Regions from separate parts of the Homo sapiens genome. Here region 2 is linked to region 1. Evidence: promoter capture Hi-C in 16 types of primary human blood cells and fetal thymus (Javierre and others, 2016). All regions are on one chromosome and are shown on one strand. Each heading gives the region's core, a stretch centred on a gene start or on the middle of the fragment in contact. The rest is flanking DNA. Distances are from core to core; before and after follow the strand shown.

Region 1 (3,845 bases), core at 538-3,037:
GAAGAAAGGTACAAGAGGCTATACGCTGTGATGGCCCCAGGGCGGGCACTCTGCAGATATCATCTCCGCTTCTCAAGATGGCACCCAGTAGTTGTTAGTTACGGTTCTCAGTTTACAGAAGGGGGAAACTGAAACTCAGAGAGCAGAAGCGGCCCTTTCTGAGATCTGAATCAAACCCAGATCCACCTCTCCTGGCTGATGGCTGTTCAGCTCCTCCCACTTCTCCATCCCTGGAGAGGAAGTTAAGAGCTAAGCTGCTTAGCTGCAGGTCAAAAGGCAGCTGAAGTTTGAGCGGTGCCACAGTCCCCTTAACCCCTCCTTTATTTTGTCCCTCATTGGTGTCTTTCATTGTACTACCTCAAAGCTACCACGTTGAGCTCCTCCCCTGGGATAGATAAGTCTTTTTGAAGGACAGAACAGGTTGTCTCTCAGGAGAGGAGAATGAGGATTCTACCCACATTCAGAGCCAGCCAGGGTGGGGGGCTTCTGTCTTTCTGTAGCCCTTGATGCTGTTCCCTTTTCCTCTTCTTGAGGCAAACACACTCCTGGAATCAGAGGGGAAGCTTCCTGATATACCTCAGTGTCCATGGCTCCAAACCTGCTGGTGTCACCTGAGGCAGGCCCAGAGAGAGACGACACAGTCACTGCTTCAGGCCCAGGGAAGCTCACAGTCACCAACTCCTCCGACGACACTTGGTCACTCAGAACTCTAAACTGTGGGTCAGGAGCGCGACCTTGCTTGCTGTTGTATCCCCGACAGAACTCAGTATCACCACCCTCATTTTGCGGAAAGACATCATGTAAATGACTCGCTCATAAACACCTCTGCCTCTCTTCAACACTGTAATTAACTGCATTTCATGCTCCTTTCCATCACAGTATGGAAGACCACTAAGCACTGGACAGCAAGACTTGGTTCAGTCTAAGAACCAACTAAGCTTCATAGATGGGGGAAACCTATCCCAGTGATCTCGCCTTACACTTTGAAAACCAAGGTAGGAGACAGATGAGATGGAAGGTAGGGCCGTTTCCAGAACAAGAGTAGTCGCTAATATGGGAACTAGTATAAACAACTCCTACCTGACCTGGGCGACGTATGCTGGGCCCTGCGCTAAGCCTTTTACAAGTATTACATCACTGAATCTAAATGACCATAACAGGGAGGACTTCAGAAAAAGGAAATAACCCGCACCAGGCATGCACAGCAAGTCAGCAGTGGGGTCATGATTAAGCCTGCGCCAAAGTGTAGAGGGTGCCCCTGGGAATCCAGGCCAGGCAGATGAGTGGCCCAGGTCGCGATGGTGACCGACAGGAAGGCCGCAGCTGGGACCCACGGCGAGGCTCGACCGTGCTGGGGGTCGGGCTCGCGTGTACACACTTACCGGGGTGCAGGTGAGCGCGCAATGCGCGTGCACAGACCAATGCCCCGAGAGGACAGTGAGCGCGTGCGCGAGGCAGATGGTGGCAAGCACGAGCAGCGCAGCTTCGGGGATCTGCACCCAACTGCTGCCCCAGCCCCAGCAGCCAGCGGCTGCGGCACCCAACCAGGCCGGGTAAAGCAGCCCGGCGAATGGCAGCACCGTGAGGCGCCGCAACAGCGCCAACCGCCGGTACGGCCACACGGCAGCCACCAGCTCGTCACCGTTCGCTATGAGCGCCGGCCCGGCGGCAAGGAGCGCGCGCGGCTGCGGCCCGGGCTTGGGCTGCCCGTCAGGCCGGACCCCGCAAGGCCGGGCCCCGCAGGGCACCGCGTTGCCCACCGCCGCCGCTGCCGCCATCTTTCCTAGCGCCGCGCTCACTTCCGGGCAGAGGAACGCCTCACTTCCGAAGTTTTACTTCCGGTAAGCCCTGAGCGCCGCCATGGCAGCCTGGACTAGGAAGAGCCAGGGCAACAGAACAGGCTGGCCCCGGCAGGGACTACTTCGGGTGCCGCCATGACAGGCTGTGGCCGGAAGAAGAGGCTGGGCGTCGCCATGACAGAGAGGGACTGGAAGACCTAACGGTGCCTGCCTCCGCTGCCACGCCGGACTGAGACCGGAAAAGACAAGGCCGGCAAGGCGGGCTTGGGCGCCACCATGACAACCTGAACCAAAAAAAGCGAGCCCTCCTCCTTGACTACACCAGCACCACCTGTCACCAGGGGCGAAGCCTGGACCCTGCGGAGGCGGGGTCGGGAGCTTCGGAGTTCAGGAGGCGGGGCCCGGTGCGGGGGGCGGGGCTTGTGAGGGGCGGGGTCGGGGACCGCCCCGGAACACAACCACACCGGACAAGAGCCTTAATGTGATAGATAAGAATTACAAATACTAGCCGGGCGCGGTGGCTCACGCCTGTAATCCCAACACTTTGGGAGGCGAGGCGGGTGGATCACCTGAGATCAGGAGTTCAAGACCCAACATGGTGAAACCACGTCTCTACTAAAAATACAAAAATTAGCCGGGCGTGGTGGCACATGCCTGTAATCCCAGCTACTCGGGAGGATGAGGCAGGAGAATTGCTTGAGCCCGGGAGACGGAGGTTGCAGTGAGCCAAGATTGCTCCACTGCACTTCAGCCTGGCCAACAGAGCAAGACTGTCTCAAAAAAAAAAAAAAGAAAAATGAATTACAAAAACCACTTTAGGCCGGGCGCGGTGGCTCACGCCTGTAATCCCAGCACTTTGGGAGGCCGAGGTCAGGAGATCGAGACCATCCTGGCTAACGCGGTGAAACCCCGTCTCCACTAAAAATACAAAAAAAAAAAAAAAATTCTCCGGGCGTGGTGGCGGGCGCCTGTAGTCCCAGCTACTCCGGAGCCTGAGGCAGAATGGCGCGAACTGGAGAGGCAGAGCTTGCAGTGAGCGGAGATTGTGCCACTGCCCTCCAGCCTGGGCGACAGAGCGAGACTCTGTCTCCAAAAAAAAAAAAAAAAAAAAAAAGAAATTACCACTTTAACATAAAAAATGAAAAACTGGTGTTTACTTGAAATTATATACTTCTAGGCCGGGCGCGGTGGCTCACCCCTGTAATTCCAGCACTTTGGGAGGCCGAGGCGGGCGGATCACGAGTTCAGGAGATCGAGACCGTCCTGGCTAACACAGTGAAACCCCGTCTCTACTAAAAATACAAAAAATTAGCCGGGCGTGGTTGCAGGCGCCTGTAGTCCCAGCTACTCGGGAGGCTGAGGCAGGAGAATGGCCTGAACCTGGGAGGCGGAGCTTGCAGTGAGCCGAGATCGCGCCACTGCACTCCAGCCTGGGCGACAGAGCGAGACTCTGTCTGAAAAAAAAAAAAAAAAGAAATTATATAGTTCTATATTATTAACTGTACTGTTGCATAAATGCTATTTGAACAAAACCACAATAGGACTACTTAACAGTACCAATTAGTAGGATTAAACAGTATGTGTGACAAACAGTAACTATTTTATGTTTCTTTTTGTCCTCTGATACAGCAAATTTATTTAAACTTAAAATTTATTGGATATTTAAATTTTGTAGCTTATATTGTTGCATATTCTTTTTTTAATTTTTCGAGATGAAGTCTCACTCTGTCGCCCAGGCTGGAGTGCAGTGGCGCGATGTCCGCTCACTGCAAACTCCACTTTCCGAGTTCAATCGATTCTCCCATTTCAGCCTCCCAAGTAACTGGGATTACAGGCGCATGCCACCGCTCCGGCTAATTTTTGTACTTTTTTTTTTAGACGGAGTCTCACTCTGTTGCCCAGGCTGGAGTGCGGTGGTGCGATCTCAGCTCACTGCAACCTACGCCTCCTGGGTTCCAGCGGTTCTCCTGCCTCAGCCTCCCGGGTAGCTGGGACTACAGGCGCGTGCCACCATGCCTGGCTAATTTTTTGTATTTTCAGTAGAGA
Region 2 (3,845 bases), core at 97-2,596, about 39 Mb after region 1:
TGAGCCACCTCGCCCAGCTGATTTATATCTTTTTTTTTTTTTTTAAAGCAGAATGCACCCATGCCACAGTGCTCCTTCCTGCAGCCTGTCAGGCGTCGGCCCACCCTGCAACATCCAGGATGTCATTTGAGCCCTGGTCACACGAAAGCACTGCATGGGATGAAGGTGGTTTATTTATTTATTTTTATTTTATTATTTATTTATTTTTTTGACACAGAGTCTCGTTCTGTTGCCCAGGCTGGAGTGCAGTGACACAATCTCGGCTCACTGCAACCTCTGCCTCCCAGGTTCAAGCAATTCTCCTGCCTCAGCCTGGCGAGTAGCTGGGATTACAGGTGCCTGCCCCCACGCCCAGCTAATTTTTGTATTTTCAGTAGAGATGAGGTTTCACCCTGTTGGCCTGGCTGGTCTCAAACTCCTGGCCTCAAGTGATCCCCCTGCCTCAGCTTCCCAAAGGTGCTGGGATCACAGGCACAAGCCACTGCGCCCGGCCGAAGGTGGTTTCTTTTAAGCAATACATTTGTATTGAGAAAAACAAGTTCTTGGCCGGGCGCGGTGGCTCACGCCTGTAATTCCAGCACTTTGGGAGGCCGAGGCGGGCGGATCACGAGGTCAAGAGATCGAGACCATCCTGGCTAACACGGTGAAACCCCATCTCTACTAAAAAAAATACAAAAAATTAGCCGGGTGTGGTGGCAGGCGCCTGTAGTCCCAGCTACTCCGGAGGCTGAGGCAGGAGAATGGCTTGAACCCGGGAGGCAGAGCTTGCCATAAGTCAAAATCAGGCCACTACACTCCAGCCTGGGTGACAGAGCAAGACTCTGTCTCAAAAAAAAAAAAAAAAAAAAAAAAAAAAAAAAAAAAAGAAAGAAAAGAAAAAAGGAAAAAAAAAGAGAAAAACAAGTTCTTTTAAATCTCTAGGTAAAAATAAAATAATTTCTCACACACAGCCAAGTCAACTGCATACCAGAGTACCAAGCATAGTTTCCACATCAGAGGCTTAAGCTCTGGGGTAAAAGCATTTTCTTTAACCAGGTGTCTGTTAATTCACTCATATCAAAGAGAAAACTTGGCTGGGTGTAGTGGCTTATGCCTATAATCCCAGCACTTTGTGAAGCCAAGGTGGGTGGATGGCTTGAGCCCAGGAGTTAGAGACCAGCCTGGGCAGTATGGTGAAACCCTGTCTCTATTAAAAAAAAAAAAAAAAATGGCCGGACGTGGTGACTCATGCCTGTAATCCCAACACTTTGGGAGGCCAAGGTGGGTGGATCACGAGGTCAGGAGATTGAGACCAGCCTGGCTAACATGGTGAAACCCCATCTCTACTAAAAATACAAAAAATTAGCCAGGCGAGGTGGCGCGCACCTGTAATCCCAGATACTCGGGAGGCTGAGACAGGAGAATCACTGGAATCCGGGAGGCGGAGGTTGCAGTGAGCCAAGATCGTGCCACTGCACTCCAGCCTGGGCGACAGAGCGAGACTCCGTCAAAAAAAAAAAAAAAAGGCTGGGCGCAGTGGCTCACACCAGTAATCCCAGCACTTTGGGAGGTGGGCAGATCACGAGGTCAGGAGATTGAGACCATCCTGGCTAACATGGTGAAATCCCGTCTCTACTAAAAAATAGAAAAAATTAGCCAGGTGTGGTGGTGGGCGCCTGCAGGAGAATGGTGTGAACCCGGGAGGCGGAGCTTGTAGTGAGCCGAGATCTTGCCACTGCACTCCAGCCTGGGTGACAGAACGAGACTCCATCTCAAAAAAAAAACTATCCAGGTGTGGTGGTGCAAGCCTGTAGCCCCAGCTGTCAGGAAGCTAAGGTGGGATGATCGCTTGAGCCTGGGAGATTGAGGCTGCAGTGAGCTACAATTGCACCACTGCACGCCAGCCTGGGCAACACAGTGAGACCACATCTCAAAAAAAGAAAGCAAAGAAAACTCTTCATTAGAAACTGAACATGCTCGCTGGGAATGATATTCAGGGCACAGGGCAATTCCTTACAGGGGCACACACCCAAGGGCACTGCTGCCACCACATGGGAAGTTGTGACGGGAGGGAGGAGACTGAGGGCAGGACACAAGACATGGAGACACACATTCTGGTCTGTCTGACCATGGAGCTCTGTCCACACCCAGGCTGCCTGCTGGCTCCCAACCACCACACACAGTATCTGGCGTTTCTCACAGGTGTCGGCTTCTCTCTCTCGAGTCCATCTGCTGGCCGTGGACCTGGCTATTCGGGGCAGGCCCATCCTGCCCACCTCCCCACACTCTCTCAAGCCTCTGTCTCTGAGCACTGCAGGTTTTGTAGTGTTCCCTCGTCTACCTCTGAGAGGCCAGGCTGACTGAAGAGCTCCTGAGAAAGCCACCAGGACCCACTGCTAAAGGGGTTGGTCCAGGGTCATTGCCAGGCTGGGATCTGAGGTCCCCACACATAGGGCAGGGAACTCCCCAGCCATAGACTCTGATGGGGGTACCAGTGTGGACTCCAGCCCTTTACACGGAGGAGGGAGCATGCCACTATGGATGCTGAGCAGCAGGAGGTCAGGGGCCCCGCTTTCACAATGTGCCATCCCAGAAGCCCCACAGCCAGGATCTGGACCTCTCTGACACAACTCCAGGTCACAGAGACCCAGATGTCAGGGATGGAGGGACTTGGGCACCTGCCTTGCTATTAGCTCCAAGGCTGCTGGCTTCATGTCACAGTCTGTACAACAGCTGGTGGCATGAGCAGGGCTAGGACCAGCACTCAGCATGACTTCCTAGAACTCTAGGGACTTAGGGGCTGAGGACTTCCCAGGGTGAAAGACCATACCTGGGACAGCCTGGCCAAACAGGGACAATTGATCACCATGGAATCAGTGGACAGGCCCAAGAATGGATGGGCACATGAGGTCACCCAGGATCAGGCAGGTTCCACTGAAGGAGGCTGCAAAAGATATATCCAATGTCCTAACCCCGGAACTCTCAGAATGTGACCTTATTAGGTCTTTGCAGACATAATTAAGGATCTTGTGATGAGATCACCCTGAATAACCTGGGTGTGCCCTAATTCCAATGACAGGTGTCCTTATGAAGGAGGCAAAGGGAGTTCTGACACGGAGAAGAGTGGTCCATGTGAAGATGGAGGCTGATATTGGAGTGATGCAGCCACACTCCAAGGAACACCCGGAGCCGCCAGAAGCCGGAAGAGGCAAGGAAAGACCCCCACCCAGAGCCGTCAGAGAGCACAGTACTGCTGACACCTTGATTTCAGACTTCTGGCTTCCAGGACTGTGAGAGTAAATTTCTGTTGTTTTAAACTGCCCAGTTTGTGGTAGTGTGTTATAGCAGCCACAGAAACTAATAGAGACTGGTCTAGCACCCTCGACAGAATGTGTGTGTTGTAAGGGGCTCTCCTGATCCCTAGTGATGGGGAGTCAGAGGACTGCTTAGTGTCTGAACAGAGGGTTGGGGAAGCTGGGTTGTCCTGAAGAACCAGCAGTCCCCACTTGGCAGAAAGGGACCCTGAACTTGTGGGAGGTGGGGGCTGAGGGGCACCTGCTAGCCATGTGCTAACAGCATCTTCGGATTGGTCCCCAGATGCCCTGCTCCCAGGGGTGGCTCCTCTGCTGCAACAAGAACCTGCCTCCCAGCACCAGACACAGCAGGTGGGAGCTGTGGACCATGGCCGAGTCTCTTCGTCTCCTTGATCTGCTCCCAGGATGCACTGTCCAACTATCCCACCTGTAGGTGGGTGGCATTCCAGCCATGGACCCATGATCTGAGGCTGAGCACAGCAAACACAATCGAGGCTCTGGGTCCCAGGTCCCAGGAGCCCGTCCTTGATGGTGCATTACAGCTCTCCCAGG

Evidence for each region. The method cuts DNA at HindIII sites, captures the fragments that hold promoters and counts their contacts. A CHiCAGO score of 5 or more calls a contact.
Region 2: a fragment that was not itself captured here is called in contact with the fragment with the promoter of ATP13A1 in region 1 in 1 of 17 cell types (monocytes); the score reaches 7.8 in monocytes.

Annotation. Positions count from the first base shown.
Region 1 is chr19:19,661,889-19,665,733 of GRCh38, forward strand. ATP13A1 (ATPase 13A1) reads right to left here and starts at 1,788. Exons shown (of 26, transcript NM_020410.3): 1 at 1,383-1,788. The coding sequence starts at 1,778. RefSeq lists enhancers at 1-181, 955-1,004, 1,136-2,118, 1,390-1,491, 1,835-2,124 and 1 more and silencers at 1,525-1,784, 2,225-2,274. The HindIII fragment of the contact is 4,289 bases long and covers 937-3,845 here.
Region 2 is chr19:58,375,727-58,379,571 of GRCh38, forward strand. All of the region lies in intron 1 of ZNF837 (zinc finger protein 837), which reads right to left. It overlaps LOC105372484 (a long non-coding RNA gene), which reads left to right and starts at 1,857. Exons shown (of 2, transcript XR_936130.2): 1 at 1,857-2,383; 2 at 3,059-3,299. The HindIII fragment of the contact is 6,480 bases long and covers 1-3,845 here.